Regions from separate parts of the Homo sapiens genome. Here region 2 is linked to region 1. Evidence: promoter capture Hi-C in human tissues and cell types (Jung and others, 2019). All regions are on one chromosome and are shown on one strand. The core of a region is centred on a gene start or on the middle of the fragment in contact, and the rest is flanking DNA. Distances in the headings are between cores, read along the strand shown.

What was found. The method cuts DNA at HindIII sites, captures the fragments that hold promoters and counts their contacts. A contact is called where the count stands out against the background at its distance.
Region 2: a fragment that was not itself captured here is called in contact with the fragment with the promoter of ELN in region 1 in 1 of the 25 tissues and cell types used here (IMR-90 fibroblasts).

Annotation. Positions count from the first base shown.
Region 1 is chr7:74,024,797-74,031,824 of GRCh38, reverse strand. ELN (elastin) reads right to left here and starts at 3,652. Exons shown (of 33, transcript NM_000501.4): 1 at 3,556-3,652. The coding sequence starts at 3,637. RefSeq lists enhancers at 2,325-3,296, 4,269-5,241. The HindIII fragment of the contact is 22,090 bases long and covers 1-7,028 here.
Region 2 is chr7:74,085,891-74,092,918 of GRCh38, reverse strand. The region is part of intron 2 of LIMK1 (LIM domain kinase 1); the gene reads right to left. Among named protein-coding and RNA genes, the nearest start is that of LIMK1, 5.6 kb to the right of the region's middle. RefSeq lists enhancers at 1-128, 1,784-2,284, 2,285-2,785, 6,593-7,028. The HindIII fragment of the contact is 4,301 bases long and covers 2,092-6,392 here.

The DNA.
Region 1 (7,028 bases), core at 2,403-4,902:
CTCTCCTTTCTCTCTCTCTCTCTCTCTTTCTTTCTTTTTCTTTCTTTTTAAATATTCATTTATTTTTTAAATAGAGACGGGGGCCTTCCTATGTTGCCCAGGCTGGTCTCAAACTCCTGGGCTCAAGCAATCTGCCCATGTGGGCCTCCCAAAGTGCTAGGATTACAGGCATGAGTCACTGCACCTGGCCCCATTTACTTTTCTCTTTAGGTTTAACTCAAATGTCACTTCTGCTGGGAAGCCTTCCTGGATTTCTCAAGGCTCCTTCTGGCCACCCCCAACCGAGTCCTGTCTGCTTCTTTCATCATTGCACATCTATTTACACATTAGCTGCCCCTCCACTAGACAAAACATGGTGTAAGTAGTGAGAGGGAGTATTAAACCTTAGCAATGTGCACTAATTACAAGGATCCATGAGCCCAAATTAGCAGACTCTGAATAAGAGAATAGATTATTTTAAAAATGCCCATTCCCACGGTCCTTTTATTTGATGCTTTTTTTCCCCCCAGATATTACATTGCTAGAAGCTCTCACTGGCCCTAGGAGGTACTTCAGGCAGGGCTGTTTCTCCCCATTTTGCAGCCAGGGAAATGGAGAACCAGTGAGCTGAAGAGCCTGGTCTGGGACCCCCAGCTGACCCCAAGTCACATGTAGGGCCATTTGCCTGGGCCCTGGGCTCCAGGTTCAAAGAGCTGGAAGCAGCCTGTTTGGGAGCGAGCCTGGGGCCAGCCGATCTTGGCAGGGGGCTTTGCCAAACCAAAGTCCAGGGGGCTGGCTTGGGGAGCAGATAAGACCACACGAAGCTGTTTGTTGTTTGCATGCAGAAGGCTGCCAAGGGTTTTCAAAAACAAGCTGTCCTCCACTGGGTGACTGTGTCCCCTCCCACACAGGGCACATTTGCCCTCATGCCGGGGCCTCGGCAGACACACAGAGCGGGATCGACCTCTAAACCAGTGCTTCTTGGCCCTGGCGACCCCACCGTCACCTGGGAAGCCTGAAAAGTCTGTGTCCAGGTCCCTCTCCAACCAAAGCAAGCAGGGATTCTTGGGTGGGAAGTCTAATAGATAGCCAGGTTGAAAACCCCTGTTCCTACTTAAGGACGGAAAACAATAATTAAAAAAATATTTAAAAAGAGGCAGTGGCTCATGCCTGTAATCCAAGCACTTTGGGAGGCGGAGGTGGGAGGATCACTTGAGCCCAGGAATTCAGACCAGCCTGGACAACACAGCGAGACCCTGTCTCAATTTAAAAAAAATAAAAAAGGTAAAAAAATAAAAATAAAAAAGGAAAATAAAAGAAAAGGAAACCTCTGTTCCAAACCATCTTCAGTTCTGAAATCAGGAAAAAAAAAAAAAAAAATCCCTGATACTATTTCTGGGGGATGGGGAAGAATTATCCCTGGGTTAATTTCTCATGCTCACTTTTGAAACAGCCTGGGAGCTGTGCGGCTTGTCCCCTCCTCCTGCTCCCCCACCCCCGCAACAGGGTTCCTTCCTTGGAGCCGCTGAACTTGCATAAGTGACACCCTCCTCCTTGAGGGAGAAGCCAGGCTCCCCCAGGACAGCCAGGTGAGTGGCAGTGAGCATGTGACTGAGCGCTCCACTCCCTGTGTTGGCTCCCCGACCTCTGCAGACTTCAGTAGCACTTCTGTGCAAAACCCCACACGAGCTCATCAGTTCACACACCCCTTATTTGGACCTAGCAAGTCCAGCCACCTGGGACAGAGCTGAGATTGATCTCTGCAAAGTGTGAGGCCAGCTGGGCGTTTAGCGGTGTCACTGAGGACACAAGGAGAGAGCTGATTCTGCCTAGGGCATGCCTGCTTTAAGGACTCAGCCCCAAGCCTTCCCCTCCCCAAATGTTGCCTGCTAGCTCACTCCTAACCCCCTTGCCCCTTGACCTGGGGCAGAGAGCTGGCTGATACTAACCCCCGGGGACTGCCTTAGCCTGCCGGAGCCTCAGCTTCCTTGTTTGTCAAGTGATGATAATAATTTCTAATTCTCAAGGTTCCTTGATGATGAACTGCCACCCTATAGGTGGTGGCCCCATCTGGGAAGAAGGGTGGCTGGGTGTTTGGGGGCTACACCTGGGGAGGAGGCTGAGACGGACCCGGGGCTGCTGCTTTCAGGCCCTGGCTCGTTGCCCCTGCTGGGGCCCGCCTGTGGGTACCCATGTCCCTTGGCCTCATCCAGGTCCAGCAGCGGACCCTGCACAGGAAGCTGTTCAATCTCACGGAAACAGCTGCAGCTCCTGCCCAGGCCCTTGACTCCACCCCGTGGCCCTCCCGCCCCCCACTCAGCGTTTGGTTCTCATGGCAAGGAGGACTCCCGAGGAAACCAGACTCCACCCAGACCCCCCTACCAAATGCCCTCCTTTTTCCCATGCCCGGGAGCCTCTTCTGTCCTCCCCCGTTGGCCGCGGCATAGCAGCCCCACAGGGCACACCCTCAAACCCCATAACCAACTGTGCCTGGGTTGGGGCACATAGCAGATGGCCCAGCAGTGCCCCAGGATCCACTCCAGCCTCTGTCTCAGCCACACTGCCTCTGCCAGGAGACAGACACCTTCTCCAGCCCGCCTTTCCATGCTTGCGTGCCACATCGCACACACATTCACACACACAGATGTACACACTCCATAACACACACAGTGACAGTCCACACCAGTGTCACACCTGGATGCCAGATCGCCCATGTCTACATGTGTACATGTCTACATGTCTGTCAGGTGGCAGACTTTTGCACACACTAAGGAGCAGCTTCATATACCTCCTCCAAACATACGCATACACCTGCCTAAGGATGAACCTGTGAGCAGACATATGTACCCCTCCAGAAATCCCTTTCCCTGTTCAGTGACACAGCCGGGCATCTGAACACATGCACACCTGTGCATGCACACATACACACACGAGCACACAGCACGCTCATTCCTGTGTGCATGCACACACACACACACACACAAATGCATACCAGGAGTCCCTGCCTGCCTCAGCAGGGAGAACACAGCAGCAGCTTCCCAACCTGCAAACCCATCCTCAGCGGAGCCCTGACCTTCCTGACGGGGGGATCCCGGCTTCCCAGGGGTCAAGGAACCTGCTGAGGTCACACAGCTCACTGCGGTTGAGCTGGTATCAAGCCCAGGTTCCCTGTCCCCAGGGCTGGTGTGCACCCCAGCTGTGTCCACAGGTGTGCAGACTGTGGTGTCTCCAGACCCAGGGGTTCCCGCTGGGCCCTCCCCCAGGATGCTCTGATCCCCCTACAGGGCGGGCACCCGGGCACCTGAGCAGGGGCCCCCTCAGCCCTCGCAGGGCAGCAAAGCCTGGATGCTGGGCTGGGACTATTCTGAGTCGAGGGTGTCTCTTTGACAGGTTCCTCCTGGGCACGGGGCTGGCTCCTGGGAGGGGCAGTTCCGAGGACCCAGTGGCTGAGGGGCTCCCACCTGGGACCCCTTGCAGTTCCCAGGGACGAAGGTCTCCCCCTTGAGCGTCTAGTCACCTGGCCCAAAGGGCCCGCAGCTGTGGGCAGCGCTGGGGACAGGGGCGAGGGGTCCTTACCTCCAGGCCGAGAGGGGTGGAGGATGGACAGCAGGAGCAGGAGGACTCCGGGCCGCGGGGCCGCCGCCGTCAGACCCGCCATCTCGGGGAGAAATGCCCCAGCCCGCTCTCCGCACCTCGTTTTATCCCCAAAGCCTAATTGTTGCCTCGTCGGCTGTGAGGGAAAGAGGGAGGGAGAGAGGGCGGGCGGGAGGGCGGGAGAGGGGGGAGGCCTGGGGGAGGGGGCCGCGGGGAGGGGACAATTACGAAAGGCCCGGCTCACAAGCCTCCCAGGCCCGGGCTGCTGGACTGCGAGCTTTTTTCCTTGACACACACACGCACACACATGCACACAAGCACACACTCACACACACACACTTTCCCCCATCTCTTTCCCGCTTTCCCTCTGCGACTGTTCTTTCGCTGCTGGCCCTGTTCCCGCCAGAAAGAGCGAGGGGGGCCTCTGCCAGGACAGCCCTCGGGAGAGGAAGCAGAAGGGAGGGCCTGGCGGCCAGGCCAAAAATCCCAGCCCCAGCCAAGGCCCGAGTGGCCAGGCCCCCGCCCCTCCGGCTGGGCCCCGGGCCCAGTGTGAGGATACGGGCCAGCTGTCCCGCGCCTCAGCCCCCACCCCGGCCCTCCAGACTCCCCAACACCCCCAGGTCTGGCTAGAGACAGGTTCTGCCCAAAGCTGGGGAGGGGAGGCATTGGGCAGGTCTGGGGGTTTGGGGGGTGCGATGTCTACAGAGGCCGGGGGGCTGCAGGTTGAATGGCCTGGAAGGTAGGCCCGGGTTGGTATTGCTCTGGGAGGGATCTGGGGGGAAGGTAGGGGACCCTGGACAGGGCTGCATTCTGCAGGGGCCAAGGTCTCTGCCTAGCGCCTGAAGCTGGGGAGGAGGTGTTGGGTGGGTCTGGGGTGGATGCCTGCAGATGCCAGGGGGTTAGAGGCAGGGGAATGGCTTGGGAGTTAAGGCCATGTTGGTGCTGTCCCCAGGGGCATCTGGAGCACATGGAGGATCCCGACACACAGGGTTCTATTCTGCATGGGTCAAGGTCACAGCCCTATACCCAGCCCCATGCAGGCCGCAGGGTCTGGTAAAAATCAGGCTGGATCCCCAGGTGCCCTGTGGGGGAACAGGGAGGTGGGAGCCCCCCGCAGACTGACAGGCAGCCCAGCTTCCCATTATCACTGGGTCACCTCCCATCCCCACGCTGAGCACAGCTAGCGCCCACACCAGTCTGGGAGCTTCTCGACTGCTGTTCTCCCGGCCCCTCTGGGAAGGCTGACATTCCGCTGGTGGCCAGGAGGGGGCGGCCTGCACTGAAACAGCTGGGACCACGTTCCTGGAGAACTCTGCATTTCTGCCCCCAGGACTGAGCTGGACGGGGACCCTGGGGGATTTTGGGGGTTGGAGTGTGGGATGGAACAGGGGAGGGTCGTGTCCCCCACCCCTCACTTCCCACTACTGCTAGAGGAGAAGAAATGTGAGACCTAGAGAATAGGAGAGGGAAACTTGTTCCTTGTCCTAGGTCACAGCCAGTCAGGGAACAGCATGGAAGCCACACGCCCTGTGGGCTTTTCCCTGCACCACGATGGCTCCGAGGGATGAGTTAAAGACCCCTTGTGGAGGCAGGAGCACTGTGGCAGTCTGGAGTGCCAGCAGGGGTGGCTCAGCGTGGAAAGGTCAAATGCAGGCATTGGTCAAAGGCAGGTATTGGTGGACCTAGAAGTAAATTTCTGGCTCTAGCCTTTCTGGTAGGAAAACCTCTCCACAGAGCATCAGTTTCCTTATCTGTCTACAGGTGATCAGTATTCCTAGCTAAGAGATTATTGCAAAGACAAATACAACGTGGTCTTGTATTTCTGCTAGATCAAAAATGCTCTGTGTTCAGCTGGTGCTAGGACTGGTGTCAATACCACAGTTGCCGTCACTCGCTCTGCAAGTACTCTGCTTCTAGGACAGCTATCAGGCTTTGGTCTATACGGGGCCACCCCAGGACCCTGGACAAACCCTTCCTTTTCCCTGGGTCTTTGGAGGGAGCAGCTCTGGAATTTTGGAAGGTAGGGGCATGCTGGGAGAATTGTCTTGAAGATGTACGCACACAGCCAGTGTACAGCTCTTACTTACGGTGTGTGTTTATTTGGGGGTGCTTTGAGGGTAGCTGATGGAGATTATGCTGGGGTGAAAGCCCCCCCAAGCCACCCTTTGTTGGTGGGGTTAGGGGCTGCTCAGGGGCAGGGTCTGAAGCTCGATGCCCAGGATGTGCCTGCTGCAGGGGAGGGGAAGTCAATGGTATATCTGCGTGCCTCCGCCTGCCTGGGAAGGAGGAAGGCAGGGGCTACTGTGGGGAGCTGGACCCCTCTCTTCTCGAGGCAGTGACACGGGCAGGAACCAGCTTTCAGACTTGCAAACCGCAGTCTGCACAGAGTCTTTATTAATTCCAGGACGGGGAGAGAGTCCGGAGCCAGGGGGAGAGAGTTTGCAGTGGGGGGATCCAGGAGGGGTGTGGAGGGGCACTCACAGGAATAGACTTGAGGTGGCTGGAACAGACCTCTCCCCTGAGGCCGGGGGCCCTGTGTCCTGCCCCCAGCCTGTGCGCTGCTTCTGCTTAGCAGCCTCTGCTCATTGCAGGAGCTCCACGAACATAACATGCAACAAGATTGCAAAAGGGGGCCTCAATTCACAATCAAATCCATTGCACTGAATATCCATGCCGTGTAGTCTGATGCATAAGATACATAATGTAAGAACTAGAGATGACAGTCATCGGCCACCATCCATTCATTCATTCATTTACTTGTTCATTCAAGACCCCATCAGTACTCAAATGCTTAGTGTCACCTCCTTGCCTAGCTGTATGACTAAATAAGGTCATACATGCAGAATTGCCCACAGAGGGCTACCGGGTGCACCTGGCTGCCTGGTGATCGTTGGTCTTGCCGTTATCATTGACAAGCCTTTCCCGCTTGTTGCCTGGCTCAGTGCCACCAAGGGGCAACCAGATGAGTCACCCACAGGGCATCTCTATCTTCCAGCTCCTCTGGGTGCACCCATTTTGGTAGGACAGAGTTCCCAGTCTCTGGATGGCTCTGAGAACATCGTGCTTTGCTCAGACACCCTCCGTCGCTATCCAGACAAAGTTCAGATTTTTTTTTTGAGACGGAGTCTCGTTCTGTCACCCAGGCTGGAGTGCAGTGGCGTGATCTCCGCTCACTAAAATTTCTGCCTCCCAGGTTCAAGCAATTCTCCTGCCTCAGCCCCCGAGTAGCTGGGATTACAGGCATCCGCCACCACTGCCAGCTAATTTTTGTATTTTTAGTAAAGACCGGATTTCACCATGTTGGCCAGGCTGGTCTCAAACTCCTGAGCTCAGGTGATCCGCCCGCCTCGGCCTCCCAAAATGCTGGGATTACAGGTGTGAGCTACCGCATCCAGCCCCTCCTATGATCTTAAATTTACTAGTAGCCATATGAAATAAAAGAAAACATAAGTAAA
Region 2 (7,028 bases), core at 2,993-5,492, 61 kb before region 1:
TGGCAACGGCACTGAAGGCCTCAGGCTTCTCTGGGGACAGGGACAAGCTCAAAAGCAGCTGCCTCTTCCACTGCTGCCCCCAAGGGAACAGAGGTCGACTTCCTATGGACAGTTTGTCTTCGCCAAAAAGGTCCCCTGAAGAAAGGGAGGTTGCATCCCGCCGCTGCTCCAACCCCACAGGCCAGCAGCATGCTCAGCCCTCCTTGCCCAGGGCCAGCCCACCCAGCTGCCAAGGAGATGCTACCAGGGATGCGGCAGCCCTGGGGGTTGTGCACAGGAGGCTTCCTGGAGGGGACCTCGCAGAGGCAGTATGTGAGCCAAAGGGAAGCCTGGACCAGTCCAAGCCTGGTCATAACCTTCCGGGAGGCAGGGCCTGCAAGGGGCTGGGAGGTCAGAACACAGAAAGGGGCAGGCCCCGGAGTGACAACCCTCAGGGCTAATACCAGAGGTCCCATGGGCCTGCAGCAATTGTCCCACTCTACAAAGAGGGGCAGCATCTGGTCCCGGCTGAGCCCTCCAGCAGCCTGCAGGCCCCCATCACAGCACTTATGACCCTGTCTGTCCTATCAGCGTGGGACTTCCTCAAGAGCAGGGGCCAGGGGACAGGAGCAGCTCTCAGATGCTCAGGTTATGACATTCAAAGATGCACAGCTGCCTGTGCGCAGTGGCTCATGCCTGTAACCCCAGCACTTTGGGAGGCTGAGGTAGACAGATCGCTTGAGGTCAGGAGTTTGAGGCCAGCCTGGCTAACATGGTGAAACCCCGTCTCTATTAAAAACACAAAAATTAGCCAGGTGTGGTGGTGGGCGCCTGTAGTCCCAGCTACCAGGAAGCTGAGGCAGGAGAATCGCTTGAACCCGGGAGGCGGAGGTTGCAGTGAGCTGAGATCACGCCACTGCACTCCAGCCTGGGCAACAAAAGCGAGACTCTGTCTCAAAAAAAAAAAAAAAAAAAAAAAAAAAAAGCTGTACAGCCAACGGCACCTTCCACGGGGCCCACAAGGCTCTATGCACCCCTGGCCACTGACTGCACTCCCGCACGCTGGCTTTGTGGTCCTCAGTTGTGCCAAGCACATTCCCACCCCAAGGCCTTTGCACATGCACCGGCCCTACCCCCGACATCCTCTAAACACTGCTCCCTTCAATTCTGTCCCTTAAACATCACTTCCTGAGAGTGCTGTCCCCCAATACCTGACACTACATTTGTTCACTGAGTGTCTTGCCCACTAGAAGGCAGGGACCCTGTTGGTCTGGGAGGTGTGGGACTAAGCTGTGGTTACACTGTAGGCTCTGAAGCCAGGCTGCCTCGGTTCGAGTCCTGATTCTACTCCTCACGCGCTGTGAGACTTTTGGCAAGTGACTGAACTCTGCACCTCATTTGTAAAATCGCTTTTTAAAAATTTGAGACAGTGTCTCGCTCTGTTGCCCAGGCCAGAGTGCAGTGGCGTGATCACAGCTCACTGCAGCTTCGACATCCTGGGTTCAAATGATCCTCCCATCTCAGCCTCCTGAGTAGCTGGGACTACAGGTACGCACCACCACGCCTGGCTAATTTTTTTGTAGAGATGGAGTCTCACTATGTTGCCTAGGTTGATCTCAAACTCCTGGCCTCAAGCAGTCCTCCTGCCTCAGCCTCCCAAAGTGCTGGGATTACAGGCGTGAGTTACCAGCCTTGGCCTTAAAATCGCTTTAATATTGCCGGGCACGGTGGCTCACGCCTGTAATCCCAGCACTTTGGGAGGCTGAGGTGGGCGGATCACGAGGTCAGGAGATCGAGACCATCCTGGCTCACACAGCGAAACCTCGTCTGTACTAAAAATACAAACAAACAAAAAAAAATTAGCCGGGTGTGGTGGTGGGCGCCTGTAGTCCCAGCTACTTGGGAGGCTGAGGCAGGAGAATGGTGTGAACCCGGGAGGCAGAGCTTGCAGTAAGCCGAGATTGCGCCACCGCACTCCAGCCTGGGCGACAGAGCGAGACTCAAAAAAAAAATCGCTTTAATAAATAAATAGCACCCCCTTACTGGGTTGTTGTGAGAGGGGCCTAATGCAGAGTGGGCACGCCATAATTATTTGCAAGTGACTGACTCAGGGACCCTAGGAAGTTCCACTGGGAGGGGCATGCAGAGGGGCCAGGAAAGTGGAAATCACTGGCCACCTCCCCAGTGGGGCTGGAGGCTGCAGACCCCTCATGGCCTTATCACATTGCCCCTGCCCGAACACCTTCAGAGGGGTGAGGGGCCCTGGAACAAAGGTCTCAGTGCATGAAATGAGGTCTGGGCCGGGCCCAATGCCTCAAGCCCAGGGCCCGAGGGAGACTAAGCAGAGTCTAGCACCTTGGGCATCCCACTGAGAGCCAGCCTGGCTGTGGTCAGCCATGCACCCAGGTGAGCAGTGACCCCCTCTGAGCTGCTCTGCTCACTGTCACGCGGTGAGGACCACCAGCTTTGGGGACTGTTGGGAGTATCACACCCACAAGCCACGAGGTAGAAGCCATGGCTCTTACTTCTAGTGGATCTTTCCCCATATTGAGACTTTTTTTTTTCGAGATGGAGTCTTGCTCTGTCACCCAGGCTAGAGTGCAGTGGCGCGATCTTGACTCACTGCAATCACTGCCTCTCGGGTTCAAGCGATTCTTCTGCCTCAGCCTCCTGAGTAGCTGGGATTACAGGCGCCCACCAACAGGCCCGGCTAATTTTTGTATTTTTAGTAGAGATGGGGTTTCACCATGTTGGCCAGACTGGTCTCAAACTCCCGACCTCAGGTGATCTGCCTGCCTTGGCCTCCCAAAGTGCTGGGATTACAGGCGTGAGCCACTGCACCTGGCTTCCTTCTTGAGTTTCACTACACCAGGGACAGCACAAACATGCCTCCTCTTTACTGCCCTGACCTGGGGACTCACCCCTCTCCTGGTGAGTGATTTGGGACAGGCCACTCCAAAGCCAGGTACACCCATCCTGTAACACGGCTTCCCTCCTGTGGCTTCTGTGGCTCTACTCCTGACCCTCTCTCCATCACCCAAGGCTCCATCTCCCCCCTCACCGCAGACACAGGGGTCCCCAAAGTTCTTCCCTTCATTCGTCTTGGCCCTATCACAAATCCCACTCACCATCTCAGGGCCAGCTCCGAGGCGGCCGTTTTTTCTGACTTTCCTACCTCCAACTGGACTCAGGCTCCCATGGCTAGCTCTGGGCAGGACACAGCCACCATGGATAGCCCATGTCCCCTCCAGCTCAACACAGATGAGCATGTCTCCTCCCCAACATGACCCCCAATTCCATCAGAGTCAACAAACCACCAACTCCCCAGTGCCCAGGTTAGAAAACCAGATGGCTTCAGGTTCCACCCTGCCATTCGCCAGTGCCCATGCCCTCCCCGAAGCCCCTGTCTTTTTCTTTCTTCCTTTCTTTCTTTTTTTTGAGATGGGATTTCACTCTGTCACCCAGGCTGGCTTGCAGTGGTGTGATCATAGCTCACTGCAACCTCCACCTCCCAGGCTCAAGCAACCCTCCCATGTCAGCGCCCTTGAGTAGCTGGGACTACAGGCACCACCACCATGCTCAGCTAATTTTTTTGTAGAGACAAGGTTTCACTATGTTGCCCACACTGGTCTCAAACTCCTGGGCTCAAGAGATCCACCTGCCTCCGCCTCCCAAAGGGCTGGGATTATAGGCATGTGCCACCGCCAGCCCCTGCCTTTCCTACTCTGTGGCGATGTGGAGTGAGAAGGTTTTAGTCCCAGCTCTAGATGTTACAACCTTCAGCGAGGCACTTGATTGCATGGAATCTCTGTTTCTCCCATGCAAACTGGGCACATACAGTCCCTCATAGAGTTATGATGAAGATTTAACAAATTAGCATGAAGAGTGCTCAATGCATGGTAGCCAATATGACAAATACTCACCAAAAACTGTCCCTTCTGCCTGAAATTCTCTCCATCCTCAGTCACTGTCCCAGGTCAGGTCCTATGAGCTCAGACCCTTGAGTTACTGGGACAGTCCCTTCCCTGCCTAGATACCACCACCGGCCCACTGGGATGGCATTCTTCAACAGCATGTCACCCCAGCCCCTCCCTGGCTTTCTGCCGACTCCCTTCTATTTTTTTTTTTTTTTTTTTTTGAGATGGAGTCTCGCTCTGTCTCCCAGGCTGGAGTGCAGTGACGTGATCTCAGCTCACTGCAGCCTCCGCCTCCCAGGTTCAAGTGATTCTCCTTCCTTAGCCTCCCGAGTAGCTTGGATTACAGTCATGTGCCACCATGCCTGGCTAATTTTTGAATATTTAGTAGAGACGGGGGTTTCACCACGTTGGCCAGGCTGGTCTCAAGCTCCTGGGGTCAAGTGATCTGCCTGCCTCGGCCTCCCAAAGTGCTGGGATTACGGGGATGAGCCACCACCCCCATCCTGACTTCTGAAACTCCTTATCTTGGCATTCAAGGCCCTTCACGAATCGGTCTCAACTTTGTTTCTTGTTGGATCCCTCAGCTTATTCTGTTCCTTCCAAGGGAACTGTTCCTGTTCCCTCAGCAGTCCGCACCATCCCACCGCTGTGCAGATGGTTTCCTCTGCCTGTTGAGAGCCCTCTTGCCCCCCGAAGGCCTCTTTCTGAGCACCTGATGCAGAATCCCAGGGCATGCTGTCTGTCTCCTTTCAGCCACACTGAGTGTGTTCATTTCACTCACTGGCTGTGTGACTTTCATCAAGAGAATTAACCTCTCTGTGTCCCAATTTTCTCTCTGGCAAAACAAAGACAGCACTAATATCTAACTATGCAAAGTACTTAGAACAGGGGTTGTCCCTTACTGAATGTTAGAAAACGTTAGACGTTATTCCTAAAAAAGAAAAAACAGGCTGGGCATGGTGGCTTATGCTTGTAATCCCAGCACTTTGGGAGGCTGAGTCAGAAGGATCGCTTGAACCAGTTGGAGCTGGAGGCTACAGTGGGCTATGATCTCACCACTGCACGCCAGCCTGGGTGACACAGCAAGACCCTGTGTAAAAAAAAAGAAAAGAAGAAACAAAAAAACAAACCGAGGCCAGGTGCAGTGGCTCATGCCTGTAATTCCAGCATTTTGGGAGGCTGAGGCGGGCAGATCACTTGAGGTCAGGAGTTCGAGACCAGCCTGGCCAACATGGCAAAACCCTATCTCTACTGAAAATACAAAACTTAGCCGGGCGTGGTGGTGCACACCTGTAATCCCAGCTACTTGGGAGGCTGAAGCAGGAGAATCGCTTGAACCTGGGAGGCGGAGGTTGCAGTGAGGAGGGATCGCGCCACTGCTCCCCAGCCTGGGCGACACAACAAGACTGTCTCAAAAAAACCAAAAACCAAAAAATAAACCAAGGCAGAAGCCTAAAATAAAGTCCTAGTGGTGGATGTCTTGACCCCTGCTGGGCATCCCAGAAGCTTCACCTTCTACCCTTTTATGGAGTTTTCTCCCCTGAACCTTGCTGTTTGGTGACTATGCCTGTAATTCTCTCCCACACCATTTGTTTTTCTTTCTTTCTTTTTTAAAAATTGAGACTGGGTCTCGCTCTATTGCCCAGGCTAGAGTGCAGTGGTGCGATCATAGCTCACTGCAGCCTCCACCTCCCAGGCTCAAGTAACCCTGCCACCTCAGCCTCTTGAGTAGCTGGGACTACAGGCATGCGCCACCACGCCCGGCTAATTTTTTGTATTTTCAGTGGAGACAGGGTGTTGCCATATTGCCCAGGCTTGTCTCGAACTCCTGAACTCAAGTGATCTGCCCACCTCAGCCCCAAAAAGTGATGGGATTATAGGTGTGAGCCACCACGCCCCACCTCCACTCTACTTTTCTACCCAGGAAATCTCACATCCTTTGAGACCCCTGCTCTGGCCCTGCTCTGGCTCAAGGCAGGTAGACCCCTGCTCCTGGCTTCTCAGGATGGTCCTACTGGGTGACCTTCAGGTCCTCATGTACTCTTTATCCTCCGCCACAACCCTGACCCTACTTTCTTCCTACCTGTGGGTGTGTGTCTGGACACTGGGGCTGGTGTGACTGGGTTATGCATGTTCGCAAGCAGCCTGGAAGACACTGAGGGTGGCCTGGTTTCCCTTAAGGCCTGGTTTGTCTTCCCTCCCTGCAAGAGCATGAACACCCAGAAGGCAGGAGGGACATTCCTTCCAACTCTTCCCCCTGTCTGGGTGCCAGCAGGGGGCTGAATTGCAGGCACTGGCTCAATTGGAGGTCTCTCCCATCCTCTCTAAGATTTAGATCTCAGAGATCTAGGATGACAACAGAGGCCAAGGCGTTAGCTCACGCCTGTAAGCCTAGCACTTTCGGAGGCCAAGGCAGGAGGATTGCTTGAGGTCACAAGTTCAAGACCAGCCTGGGTCTCAATAGTGAGACCCTGTCTTTACACAAAATTTAAAAAATTAGCTGAGCATTGTGGTGTATACCTATAATCCCAGCTACTCGGGAGGCTGAAGTAGGAGGATCACTTTAGCCCGGGAGATGGAGGTTGCAATGAGCCGAGATGGCACCACTGCACTCCAGCCTGGGCAACAGAGCAAGACCATTTCGAAAAAAGAAAAATACATAAAAGAAAATAAAATGAGGCCAGGAGCGGTGGTTTATGTCTGTCATCCCAGCACTTTGGGAGGCTGAGGTGGGAAGATCACTTGAGGTCAGAAGTTTCAGACCAGCCTGGCTAACATGGCAAAACCCGTCTCTACTAAAAATACAAAAATTAGCTGGGCGTGGTGGTGCACGCCTGTAATCCCAGCTACTCCAGAGGCTGACACAGGAGAACTGCGTGAGCCCAGGAGGAAGAGGTTGCAATGAGCCAAGATCGCACCACTGTACTCCAGCCTGGGTGACAGAGCGAGACTCCGTCTCAAAAAGAAAAAAAAATAGATAAATAAAATGACAACAGGAAGGCCTGTAGGGATTTTCTAGTCAAAACACCTCATGTCATAAATGGTAAATTAAGGCCACGAAGTCACAATAGGGGACGGCACCAGGAGGCATATCCCGGCCTCCCCCATTCCTTGACCAGCCTGTCCTCTCTG